Regions from separate parts of the Homo sapiens genome. Here region 1 is linked to region 2. The links are contacts of gene promoters, found by promoter capture Hi-C in human tissues and cell types (Jung and others, 2019). All regions are on one chromosome and are shown on one strand. The core of a region is centred on a gene start or on the middle of the fragment in contact, and the rest is flanking DNA. Distances in the headings are between cores, read along the strand shown.

The links. Contacts are between HindIII fragments. The study calls those that stand out against the background at their distance.
Region 1: a fragment that was not itself captured here is called in contact with the fragment with the promoter of TEX26 in region 2 in 1 of the 25 tissues and cell types used here (dorsolateral prefrontal cortex).

Annotation. Positions count from the first base shown.
Region 1 is chr13:30,524,815-30,530,715 of GRCh38, forward strand. It overlaps a transcript of HMGB1 not described here. Among named protein-coding and RNA genes, the nearest start is that of HMGB1, 62 kb to the left of the region's middle. The HindIII fragment of the contact is 4,826 bases long and covers 779-5,604 here.
Region 2 is chr13:30,930,437-30,936,807 of GRCh38, forward strand. It overlaps TEX26 (testis expressed 26), which reads left to right and starts at 2,220. Exons shown (of 7, transcript NM_152325.3): 1 at 2,220-2,340. The coding sequence starts at 2,280. It overlaps TEX26-AS1 (TEX26 antisense RNA 1), which reads right to left and starts at 2,172. Exons shown (of 4, transcript NR_038287.1): 1 at 810-2,172; 2 at 365-438. The HindIII fragment of the contact is 5,735 bases long and covers 436-6,170 here.

The sequences.
Region 1 (5,901 bases), core at 1,942-4,441, 400 kb before region 2:
CACTTGAAAAGATATATAAAGATTTGGTCACATTGTATTTCACCACAGGCCCCTCCTAAGATTTATTTCTTAATTGGAACCTTGCCTGTGGTTATATATGCGTTGTTTTTTTATCACATAGTAGATATCCAACAAATAAGTATTAAACAAACAAATACATTCTTATTTGTAGGCCAGACAGAACAAATCGGCATAGTAAAATGGTTACAAATATGGCTTTGAAGTCTAACAGGATTGAGTTTAAATCCGAACTCTGCTAACTATTAAAATAATAGAAGTTTCTTAATCTCTCTAAGCTCAGACTCCATGTATAAAATGGCAAAAATAAGAATAGAAACCTCAGAGAGTAGGTGGAAGAACTGGATGATCATTGAAAGCATCTGATCATTTAAAGATAAATGATCATTCAGCACAGTGCTTTGACATTGTATGTTCCTGATAAATGACAGGTGTAATTTTGTTGTCATCACCATTGTTGTTATTTAGAAATGGCCTTTAGGGATGCACAAAATATTGCAGCAAAATGTCTCAGTATTCTTGTTCTTTGGCGTACTCCCAACCCCCACTGGTTTTTGTGACATCAGATGTGAACCACAGCAAAGGAAGAGATGAAAGAATAAAGTATCTCTCAAGACAGACTCAAAGATCCTTGACAGTAGGGCTCTGTCCTATGACTCTTTAGCCCAGTTGTTTTGCACATGGAGGTACTCACTAAATGTTTTTGATAACAAGAATATTGAGGTTCTTAATTATGTAAAAAAATTCAACATACTTAAAAGCTACTAAATGGCAAACTAATAACTTTTTGCAAAAGGAAACTAATACTTTGTTGAAAATTCTTATAAAACAAGTTGTATTTCATAAGATTGCACAGAAACAAAATATTAAACTCCATTATTAACATAAAAAAAAAAACCATCAGGTCTCACGGGAACTCACTCGCTACCATAAGAACAGCATGGGGAAATGGCCCCTGTGATTCAATTACCTCCATCTGGTCTCTCCCTTGACAGGTGGGGATTACAATTCAAGATGAGATTGTGGGGGGACACAAAGCCTAACCATATAATGGGGGTTTCGTCATGTTGCCCAGGCTGGTCTGGAGCTTCTGAGCTCAAGCGATCTGTCCGCTTTGGCCTCCCAAAGTGTTGGGATTATAGGCATGAGCCACTGTGCTCAGCCTGGCAATTTTTTTTAAAATTGGAAGGCAATATGCAACATTAAATAACCCACATCTAACAACTTTTATTTCTTTTTTTTGAGACAGGGTCTTGCTCTGATGCCCAGGCTGGAAGGCAGTAGCATGATATTGGCTCAATGCAACCACCACCTTCCAGGTTCAAGTGATTCTCACGCCTCAGTCTCCTGAGTAGCTGGGATTACAGGCATGCACCACCATGTCTGGCTCATTTTTCTATTTTTAGTAGAGATGGGGTTTCACCATGTTGGCCAGGCTGGTCTCAAACTCCTGACCTCAAGTGATGCGCCTGCCTCGGCCTCCCAAAGTGCTGGGTTTATAGGCGCAAGCCACTACGCCTGGCCCAAACACATATTATATACCACAGACTTGTGAATTATTCATTATTTCTCTAACTCTATGAGATTGTATTTTTTATTCCCATTTTGCAGATGATAAATGAAGGCTGAGAGACATTAAGACAGAGAACAGTGAGACTGGTTCTGCCTGCATATCATTTCACCTCTGAGTCTGAGATTCTTCATCCAGAGAGATCTGCAACCTCACCAGATAACCTAAAAAAAATTAAAATCAAATTGCTATAATCACAGTGCCTGCCTCATAGGGCTATTGGGACATGACGTCTACGAGGAACCTGACAGTGCTTGGCACACAGCAAGACCTTGATATGGGGAGACAGCAAGCCTGCCACCACGAGCCCTAGCTCCACCATCACTAAATGACTTGTCCCAAGACAACCAGAAAGGGGCCTCTGCCCTCTGTCGCCAAAGCTCCTCTCCATACCACAGAGCCTTCCTGTGAGAGAGTCTGTGTGTCTTTATTTCTCTTGCTGTTATCCACAAGTGTTCTAATGATTTAGCAGCACTTGGCACTGTTTTGTCTCAGATCACAATCAGCCTGAGGTCCGTGCTCCATTAGGAATGTCTGCTCATTCCTAACCGCAGTGTTTTCCACACATCCTTCTGATGGCCTTTGGCTTTACATCCTGCAGCTACGCAGGCTCCTTGGCCAGGAGGAGCCCGGAGGGGCCGAGCCCGCCTTTTAACAAGTAGCATGGGTCATTCCCCGCTAGAGGCTCAAGAGTCCTCACAGAGCAGGGGCCGCAGCGGCTGTGCATCCGGTGCTGAACCTTCTCTCTCCAGGGAGGCGGGCGAGAAAGCTGAGAAGGAGCAGTGATCTCAAAAATGGAATGGGACCTGCCTGGGAAGGCAGTTGCTGGGCCTAGGACTTAGGTCCGTAGTCTGTTTGCCAGAACTGAAACTTCAGTTGTAAGAAACTTCAGGGAGAAGCTGGCCTGTCAGCTCACCAAGGAAGGAACCTCTCGGGATGGTGGGCCCCCTGACCTTTGTCCCCACCCTGAGACTGCCATGTAGCTCGGTGAGTAACGCCTGAGTTGGGGTGGTAGCTCCTACCTCTGAGCCTCTTCCCACCTTCCTCAGATGTCGGTGGTCCACAGTGGCTGGGGACTTGCTTCTATGAATGACATATGATTGCCTGTGTCTATGCCACCACTTCCCCTGAGAAAGTGGGCTGTCACTTCCTCAGGGTCAGCATCACCACGACATCCAGCACTGCCCTTAACTGCAGAAACAGAAGGCGCCGATACAGTGTGACACAAAAAGAGATGGAGAGGAGATGGGCAAGCTCACCTTTACTCAGCCCTGACCCCACACCCAGCCCTATGCTGTGCTGAAGTTATTATTCATAAATGTCCACAAGACTCCAAAGGAGTCTTATTCCTGCTCCCAGAGAAGGGAATCAAAGCTTAAAAATAACCTTCCCAAGGTCATATAGCCAAATGTTTAGTGAAGTCAAGGTTCAAAGTCAAACTCTGAAAGATGTGTGCTCTTCCCCCCATAGTAGAATGCCTTCCATAGCCCCCTAATCTATACCCTCCTGCTGCCCTGTCTCTTTTAAAATTGAAATTTTAAAAAGGCAAACCAGGTGTTATTTCAAAATTTTATTTAAAGTTGAGAACAACTGTTTGAAGAGAGCTGTCAGTGGATTTATGCACTCTGGTGAACCTAAATTGGAAAAAGCAGGCACTTTTACAGCAGCGCATCCTCATGCGGTCTTAACAACCTGACCCAGAGCAGGGAACTCGGTGTGCTGCAGCGCCAGTGACCAGGCAACCCGTCTCCTGGGCTGTTTTCTACGTACAGGTTTTGACTCAGGGCTCCCATCGCCAGCAAAATGTAAATATGAAATGTCTTTTTTCAGGTGGGGAATGAGGTGCAGTGATCTTGAGCCATTTACCTTCTTTCATGGCCAACCACAACCAACTGGGACCATCAGAGGGATGGGATGAAGGAGATTTGTACCATTCAGAAGGGATAACTGAAGGGGTTCCCAGCCCAGGGCCCTTCCCTTTTGAGGAACAGAAAGATCACTACTGTGGTGGGGGGAGGGTGAGATCATATTAACCCATAAAAGGACTACCGTATTGCGCTCCCTTGCTTTTGACTGAGTTTACACAAACTTGTGAGGTCACGTTTGTTGCCTCTGGTTGACCAGACGCCCGCATATGCAGTTATATACATATTTGCTTAATTTTCTAAAAAGAGAAACAATGAGTTAGTTGTGTATGCTGTGTGTTTGGAAGATAACATCTCAAGGCATGACATCCATAGAGAACAGCTGATAAGTTAAAAACGGAGAACTACTGGGATGTGGAAGCTGCGAAAGAATCAGGGGAAACATCCTCAACTGAAGTTTGCATAAGATTGAATTTTGGGGCCGGGCGCGGTGGCTCACTCCTGTAATCCCAGCACTTTGGGAGACCGAGGTGGGCTGATCACGAGGTCAGGAGATCGAGACCATCCTGGCTAACACGGTGAAACCCCGTCTCTACTAAAAACACAAAAAAATTAGCCAGGCGTGGTGGCGGGCGCCTCTAGTCCCAGCTCCTTGGTAGGCTGAGGCAGGAGAATGGTGTGAACCCGGGAGGCGGAGCTTGCAGTGAGCCGAGATCGCGCCACTGCACTCCAGCCTGGGCGACAGGGCGAGACTGCGTCTCAAAAAAAAAAAAAAAAAAAAAAAAAAAAAGATTGAATTTTGGATGTCTTGGGTAGTCAGAAAGAATCACATCCTTTATAATTCGGTATTTCTGGATGGTGAAATGAAGAAAGCAGTAAAGACATCCTAAATGATGGAAAAGGCAATGGTGTCTGTGAGTTTCTTTACCCACATCTCCATCACAATGTGACCCTGCACAGTCTCTCTGCGTGCCCCCTTTAGGGACATTACCTGCTCAGAGAGGTTTCACATCTGCCAAGGCCACTCATTCTGAAAGGGAGAAATAATGTGTATTGGAACAAACTTTATCATTGACTTATGCTGGGTCACGGATGTCCTATGAACCAAGGACAACTAATGAGGCAAGAAGTAACTGAGCTATCACCAAAAAGCTGTTTGCAAAGTTATCTGAACATTCTTCCTACATTTAAGGCCCTGTCCACATTTTGCCACATTTTAAAGTTTCTTTATAGTTGTTTGAAACATGACCATTTCAAACTATGATTTTGAAATGAAGTTCCATGAAATCCCTTAGGCATACGAGGCACTGCTGGGTGATGAACGCAAACTTGATTCACTTGTATTGGCTCCTCCAGATGCTGAGTCATTATGATGCCAGATTTCAGTGAGAAAAAGCACATAGAGAATATTGGACACGATTTCTATCGTTGTGAACAAAGGTGAATAGATAGATGGCCCATTTCAGCCAGGCGGATTCAGGGATGCTGAAACAGCAGCCATACAGCTAACAGATTTCTATGCAAAAAAATATGCCACTATCCAATCTGTCTCCCACACACATCTTCTCTCTCTGCTTTTCCTCAACATTCTATCCAGGACCACGTTTCTAAGCATATTATTTCCCTGCCACCATCTAACCAAACTCTAGGCCAGACTTCCAATTGGATTTGCAGAATGTGCATAACATTTCCAAATGGATGGTGGCAATAAAGAAATGATGTCTTCAGTCTGATGAAAAAAATTCAAATTCAACAATGACACCCATTATTTCACATACTGAATTACCAAAGATTTAAAAATAATAACAAATAAAAGCAATAATAAGACAATAATATATAATACACAATACAGTTGAGCATCCCTCATCTGAAAACCCAAAATCCAAAATTTTCTAAAATTTCTAAAACACCTGACTTCTTGTGATGGGTCACAAAAATTACTAAGAATGTTGCATAAAATTACCTTCAGGCTACCTGTATAGAGTGTATATGAAACATCAATGAATTTCATGTTTAGATTTGGGTCCCATGCCCACGATATCTCATTATGTATATGCAAATATTCCAAAATCCTAAAATATCTGAAGTCTGAAACATGTCTGGTCCTGAGCATTTTGTGTAAAGAATACTCAACTTGTGCAGGTAAAAGTGTGTAGGGGAAAAGGAACTCATACATGTACTGCTGGGAATGTAAGTCAGTGCAACATGATAACAATTATCCACATGGATACCCTTTGACCAATACTAGTTCCCCTGTAGGAATTTATCTTACAGATCTGCTCACTGAAGTGTGCAAATATATAGGTAAAAGTATTTTTGTAGCTCTGCTAACAATAGTGAAAATTCTGTCAATAAGGGAATGGTGAAATAAATTACATCTACAAAGTAGAATATTATGCAGTTCTTAAAAAAGACATAGTATATATAAATCTCTGTTGTGGAAAGACT
Region 2 (6,371 bases), core at 970-3,469:
CGATGCCATCATACAGCTCATATTCAGTGCACAGTCAGTATTTGTTGAGGGAGAGAAGAAAGCAGGGGGGAAATACTCTACTTAATCATTTAGAAGGGTTGCCTCAGGCAACCAGAATTCAAAGGCAGGAATAGTGCTATACCGCTAGCCATAAAATGGACCCACGCAAAAATACACTTTGAAGTAGAAAGACTATAAAAGGAATGAAGATCAGAATAGCAACAAGAGCAATATCTTAGATTTGTGTGATTTTACAATTTATAAATTATTGTTAGAACTCATCATGTTTACAGCACAGTGAGGTGGGTGCTGGTATTCTCATTTACAGATAAGGAGACCAGGGATCAGGGAAGGATTTGCTTACCCCTAAGGGCCTGCAGTGACAGAAAGATCCTTTGGCTCTCTATTTGGTTCCTACCGCACCATTTCACAGCTTGCCTAAAATGAGACAAATTGTAAGATATTAATAAGAATTCACTTTCAAAATTCTATATACTTGCTGCTCTATTTTAAACATATATTTCTCTTAAATTATGCTATGCTAATTAGCTCTACCATTTCCAGACAGTAATCTGTTATTGGGTGCTACTTTTTAAATTTAGATGCCACTACTAAATCCTAATTTAGACTCATTCCTTTTAATAACATCTATGCCTTCTAATGTGTTCCACCCTCCATTGCTTCAAAACATGAGAGTTTATAATGTGTTATATTCATTCCATTATATGGATAGAACTCTACCTTCAGGAAATTCTAGTTTAGCTCTTCATTTTAAAGACATTCCTTGCACATATATTTGGGATCCTTACCTTGATGCTTTTTCTGTCTCCTTTGATAAATTCCTCCTTTGTCACACTGCACTGTTTCTCTGAGGTCTTGTATTAGAATAGCCCCTTAAGAATAAGGAACTGTTGTAAATTGCTTTGTAAACAGGTTGCCAGCCAACTCCAAAATGTATTTCCTGTCTTCTCTTTTCACCCAAGTGGGTAATAACTGTGTTGTAACCTGGAGACAGTCAGTAGTTACTAACCACCTAGTATGTCAAATTACCAGGTAAGGTTATCCAGCAAAAGGGGCTCACTGCACTAGAAGCCAACACTATGACACCAAGTTTTTGAGAAAAGGAAAGCTTCACATTGCAAGTTAACTTCTGAGGAAACAAAAGTCCAGTTCAAATCTGTCTTGTACTGGCTTTAGGGCAGTAATTTTATTACAAAAGGTTTAGGGTTGGATCCTGGGGTTAGCAGGTGATTGGTGGAAGCAAAGGGAACATCTGGGAAGTCTTCAGGCATGCATGGCTCTCTCTTCATGCTTCCTGGTGGGTCCCATGTGCAAATTTGGAGGGAGTTGGTATGAAACATGCAGTAGAAATTCAGGCTGTGACATCAGCAAGCTTGCTGTGCGCAAACTGCATTTGGCCATATTGATTCCGGCTGATTTCAGTCAGTTTTGTTATAAGCAGAGGGAGTTTCAGCAAATTGTTTCTTTTCTTATCTGCCCCTGAAAACAAGAATTTCTGTTAGTTATTGGTGTCTTTGACTCTTTGAAACAGTTTCAGTAGTTCCCAAGATATGAAGATAAAAGACCCCCTTCATCAGTGAAAACTCTTACAAGGGGATGAAAGACACAGCTTCCTCTATGAGAGCACAAGAACAATTAAATTGACCCTCACAAACACTATGGTTGGTGCCAGGAACGTGGCCTGGTGAGGAGGACAGTGTCACATCCTCCCTGCCCACTCCTGTTTCCACGCGTGCATTTCCTCTTCTGCCCCTCTCCTAAGCCAGGATGACCCTTCTGACCGCGTGGAACTATCACAGAAACTGCTTCCATTTATACCAGATGACTTGGGATTCAGTCTTCTTGCTTGGTTTTTATTGACTGCAAAAATCCATGACAACTTTGCGCACATTTGCTTAAGCTGAAAGCAAATGGATGAAAGTTTGTAGTTGAAAATCTACTTTCTCTTCAATCTCTTCCCTTTTTGCTTTTCTTAGGAAACATACAAGACAGTGGTCCGGAAAGCTCACTGCAAGAACTGTACAAATAATGTAAAAGTAAGGCATCCATAAGATCAAAGCCACATTTCTTTGCTCTCTGCACCCCATTCCCGCGCCGGCCAGGTTAAGCCTCCTGCGTGGCCAGCACCCCTTGGCAGGGGCAGAACTCCCTGGAACCCGATCCTTGTCTCCATGGCGACGCGTCACAAAGCAGCCCGCGGCTCCCGCAAGCGCTGAGATAGCTGGAGCCAGGGCCCCGCGGCCGCCTCCTGGGGCAGAATGGAACAGCCTGGGCCCAGGGCTCCGGATCCCTCTCTCTGCCACCACAACCTCCAGCCAAGTAAGACAGCAGACTCTGCCGGTCTGCGGGGCGGGGCTGGGGTCTTTCCCGGGGAAAGGGTCCTGTTGAGAAAAAGGGGCCTTAGTATTTAAGGGTGTGGCATCGCTCTTAGGAGTATGCTCAACTGAGGAAAAGACGGGGAGTCAGGGAGAATGACAGGGCCTTCATGACGCTGCCCCTTTTCAGTCCTTCGCATAACCTTTGCCAAATCCCCGCTCCCTAAAACGCGCAGGGTTTTTAAACACTCGAGGAAGTGCCTGGCTAAGAGGGGACAGGAAAAAAGGAAGAACTGGTGATTTTCCAAGGAAAACAGGGCCAAAGGCAAAGAAGAAAGAGAAGTCCTGGAAGCTCTGAAGAGAACAGGTCCTGCCTGAGTCCCGATCCCCATATAGGATCTTGGAAACAGCAAGGAAAGTGGGGGAAGGGTTGGCTGCTGAATGGAGTCCCAGCTGTGTCTGCAGAGGCAGACGCCCTCCCTGGGCTGTCGCACCAGGCTGGGAGCCATGGCCTTCAGCTGCCGCCTCTAACCTGAATTGATTTTTCTTCCACAGAGATTTTGTATTTCACAGAGGTAGTGCTTTTCATCCTAATTCTGCCCACAGATGCAGCAGGTTCACCAGTTCAGCCTTTTGGGTCTGTGGAGGGAGAACCACTCTAGCTGTGACGCTAGTGGCATGATTACCGTGTAGTCAGCTCCATCATAGTCTCTTGTGGCAATAATTGGCCATTGCTGCTGTATAGTTGGGTAACTGTGATTCCACAGTGGCTATGGAGCAGTGAAGGATTGTTCAAGTACAAATTCCCTAGAATTGTGCTCCCAAAAGAGTGAATGAAATGCATATTTTCATTCCAATTCATTCCGTTGTAAATTAAGAATGGAAAATGAAAATACTTAATTAGTGCAGAAAATATCTAATACACTCAGTTTCTATATGATGGGAAGGCAAACAGGAGAGACAGAGGAGGGAGGATCCCCTCCTAGCATCCCGACAGCACCCCTTTGGATGCTTCTCTTCCCTTTCTAACCACCCTGTTTTCCCACTGTCTCCCCATTTCATCCCCTTCTTGTCTGGGAACTGTTGGAGTCCCCCAGGATTGATCCTTCTAGGCTTACCTTCTCTTTGTGACCATATCCTGCACAGGGCTTCAAGTGCTGCATAAAGGTGCCAACAACTCTCTAACCTTTATCTCTGACTTGGACTTTCTTCCTACTTTTTCAGACCAGAATATCTAACTGTCTACCAGACAGTTCCATGTGGGTGTCACAGCAGGGCCTCCAACTTGACATGTGCAAAATCACACTCCTTGTCCTCCTCAAACCTTCCAGACTTTGAGAGTTCAGTTAAGAGGGTCCTAGCTGCTCAATTTAGAAGGGAAGGCAGCTTCCTTGAGACTGCAGTTTGATCACCAGGTCTCTTTGATTCTGCCTCCAAAGCTCTTTTTCCCCCAGGTGAATTCGCCCCTTTACCTCCAGGCTTGGGCCTCTAATGGCTACTCTGTGCCACTTCATTCCCCACTGCTGGGAGAGTCACCCTCCAAATGGTAGGCTTGATGTGTCCCCACTGCCCAGGTTTGGTCCGAAATAGGATGAGGTTGATGGTGACTGATGACTAACTGTTATTGAATAATTACTACAGATGGGGCTCTCAGGTGTTGTATTAGTTTCCTGTGGCTGCTATGTGTTCCCACAGACTGGTGGATTCAAACAACAAAAATGTATTTGCTCACAGCTCTGAAGGTCGAGAGCCTGAAATCAAGGTCTGGACAAGTCTGCACTCCCTCTACAGGCCCTAGGGGAGAAGTGGTCCTTACGTCTTCCAGCTTCAGGTAGCCATCGGCACTGCTAGTGATGGCAGTGGCTGCTGCCATCATGCTGGCTGCAGCAGGGAAGCACAGCTGGGGCTGCAACACTCCATGGAGCCCGTGGGAGCTGCCCCTTCTGAGTTGGGATGGGAGCTCCCTGTGCCGCTACAGCCGCCCAAACTGCAGCTACAGACCCAGGCCTCCTGCTCTATGGAGCAAGCAGGAGCCCTGCAGTCCTGGGCGAGGCTACAGCCACCCAAACTGCGGCTGTGGGTCTGAGCCTCCCTGTGCCTCTGAGCCTCCCTGTGGAACCCACGGCTGCAGACCTGGGCCTTTCACTCCATGAAGCAGGCAGGAGCCAGGGACAAGTGGGAGCTTTGCCTCTTCCAAGTTGGTGGGGCAAGAGCTCCCTGGTGCAGCTGCAGCTGCCCTCCCAGGCACAGGACCTGGGCATCTCTGCAGCCTGCACCCTTGGACTCCCCAGGAAGGACACCCTTCACCCATCCATCCCTGCAGGCTCAGGGGTATCTGATCCCACTGCCAGGCAATACCCCACCCACATCCCTGCAGGCTAAAGGGTATCTGCTCCCACTGCCTGGCCTCTCTCCACTGGCTCTGATCTCAGAGTGGGGTTGGGACCAAGCCCCAGGGCTGTGAATGGCAGCAGGAGGCAGACAGAGTCCTGGGTGGAAGGGGCTGGGGTCCCCAGTAAGGCCCCACCCTCTGACCAGGGAGGGCCTGAAGTCTGGGGACCAGGCTGCCAGTCAGGAATCTGAGTGGGGACTCATGCTGCCTCCTCCAGCCTGCGCATGGCCACCCATGGACCAATCAGCATGCACTTCCTTCCCTCTGAAGTCCATAAAAACCCTGGGCTCAGCCAGAGCAGGGAAGAGGACAGCAGCCAGAGAATGAAGAGGGCAGGGAGAGACAAGGGAACCCCCCGCTGTAGAGGAGTATGCTCTCTGCTGATAGCTGGAGATGATGGGGCAACTAGCTGCAGAAAGGAAGGAGTACCCTCTCGACTGCCGACAGACAGGAGCTACGCTCTCTGCTGAGAGCTTCAGAGACCTGCAGAGATCTCTGAATGACTTGCCTATGGAGAGGAGCTACGCTGCCTAGGGCCTCCTCTCTACTGACAGCTGAACACTTGACCGGATGACCTGCCTACAGAGAGAAGCTACCCACTCCTCCGAGCTGTTCTAACACTAAAACTCTTCTTCACTCTTCACTTGTCTGTGTACCTCAATGCGGGACAAAAACTCTGGCAAAGGCACTGCAGCCACAGAGTTTTCCAGCCAGAAAAATCAACACCCCAGAGATCCTGTAATGCTAGCTTGTGGCCTCATTACTCCAGGTCTCTGTCTCTGTCTTATAAGCACACTTGTAATTGCATTTAGGGTACACGAGGATAATCCAGGATGATTTCCTAATCTCGAAATCTTTAATTGCGTGTGCAAAGACCCCTTTTCCCAATAAAGTAAGATTCACAGGTTTTGGGGATTAGGACATGGAAATATCTTTTTTGTAGTGTCACCATGTGGCACACTACAAGCAACTTACATATATCAATACCTTGAATCCTCAAAACAAAGTGAGGGAATAAAATAATATATGTGAAAATATTTTGTAAAGTATAATAGAATATACATGTTACTACTTTATAATATTTTTTAAGCTTTATATTTTCCTAATGGTGAACACATCCAGTGGATTGTCAAGGTTAGCAGAATGAGGCTTTAGGATGCTTTGCTGACCTGTCATTAGCCATCTTTCCCTTTGCTCCATTCACATGGGGCTATTTGTTGTGTCTCATCTCAGACTCTCATACCTCATGCTACTTCCTCTGTAAATTGTTTTACTTCATGTCCTGTGCTTCTCTTTCAAACATCTACTAAATTAAATCACAGCTCAGATGCCACCTATGCTATGATGACCCCTGGGCCTGCCCTTGCTGCCGCATCTTCTCATCCAAGCAAAAAGAATTGCACCCTCTTCATGTTCCCTGTGACACATAGGACATCAGCACCACATTAAACTTGTGCTCATAGGATACATAGCTCATCTCTTGGCCTGTGAGTTCTCCAAGGCCAGGTCAAGACTCTGTGTCCCAGTGCTCCACAGGGCTGGGTCCACGGGAGGGCTTGGGGACTTCTTTGAAGGAGGAACAGAAAATGAGAGAAGAAAGAATTAGGAAGACGTAATCACAGGAAAGATGGATATGAGCTACA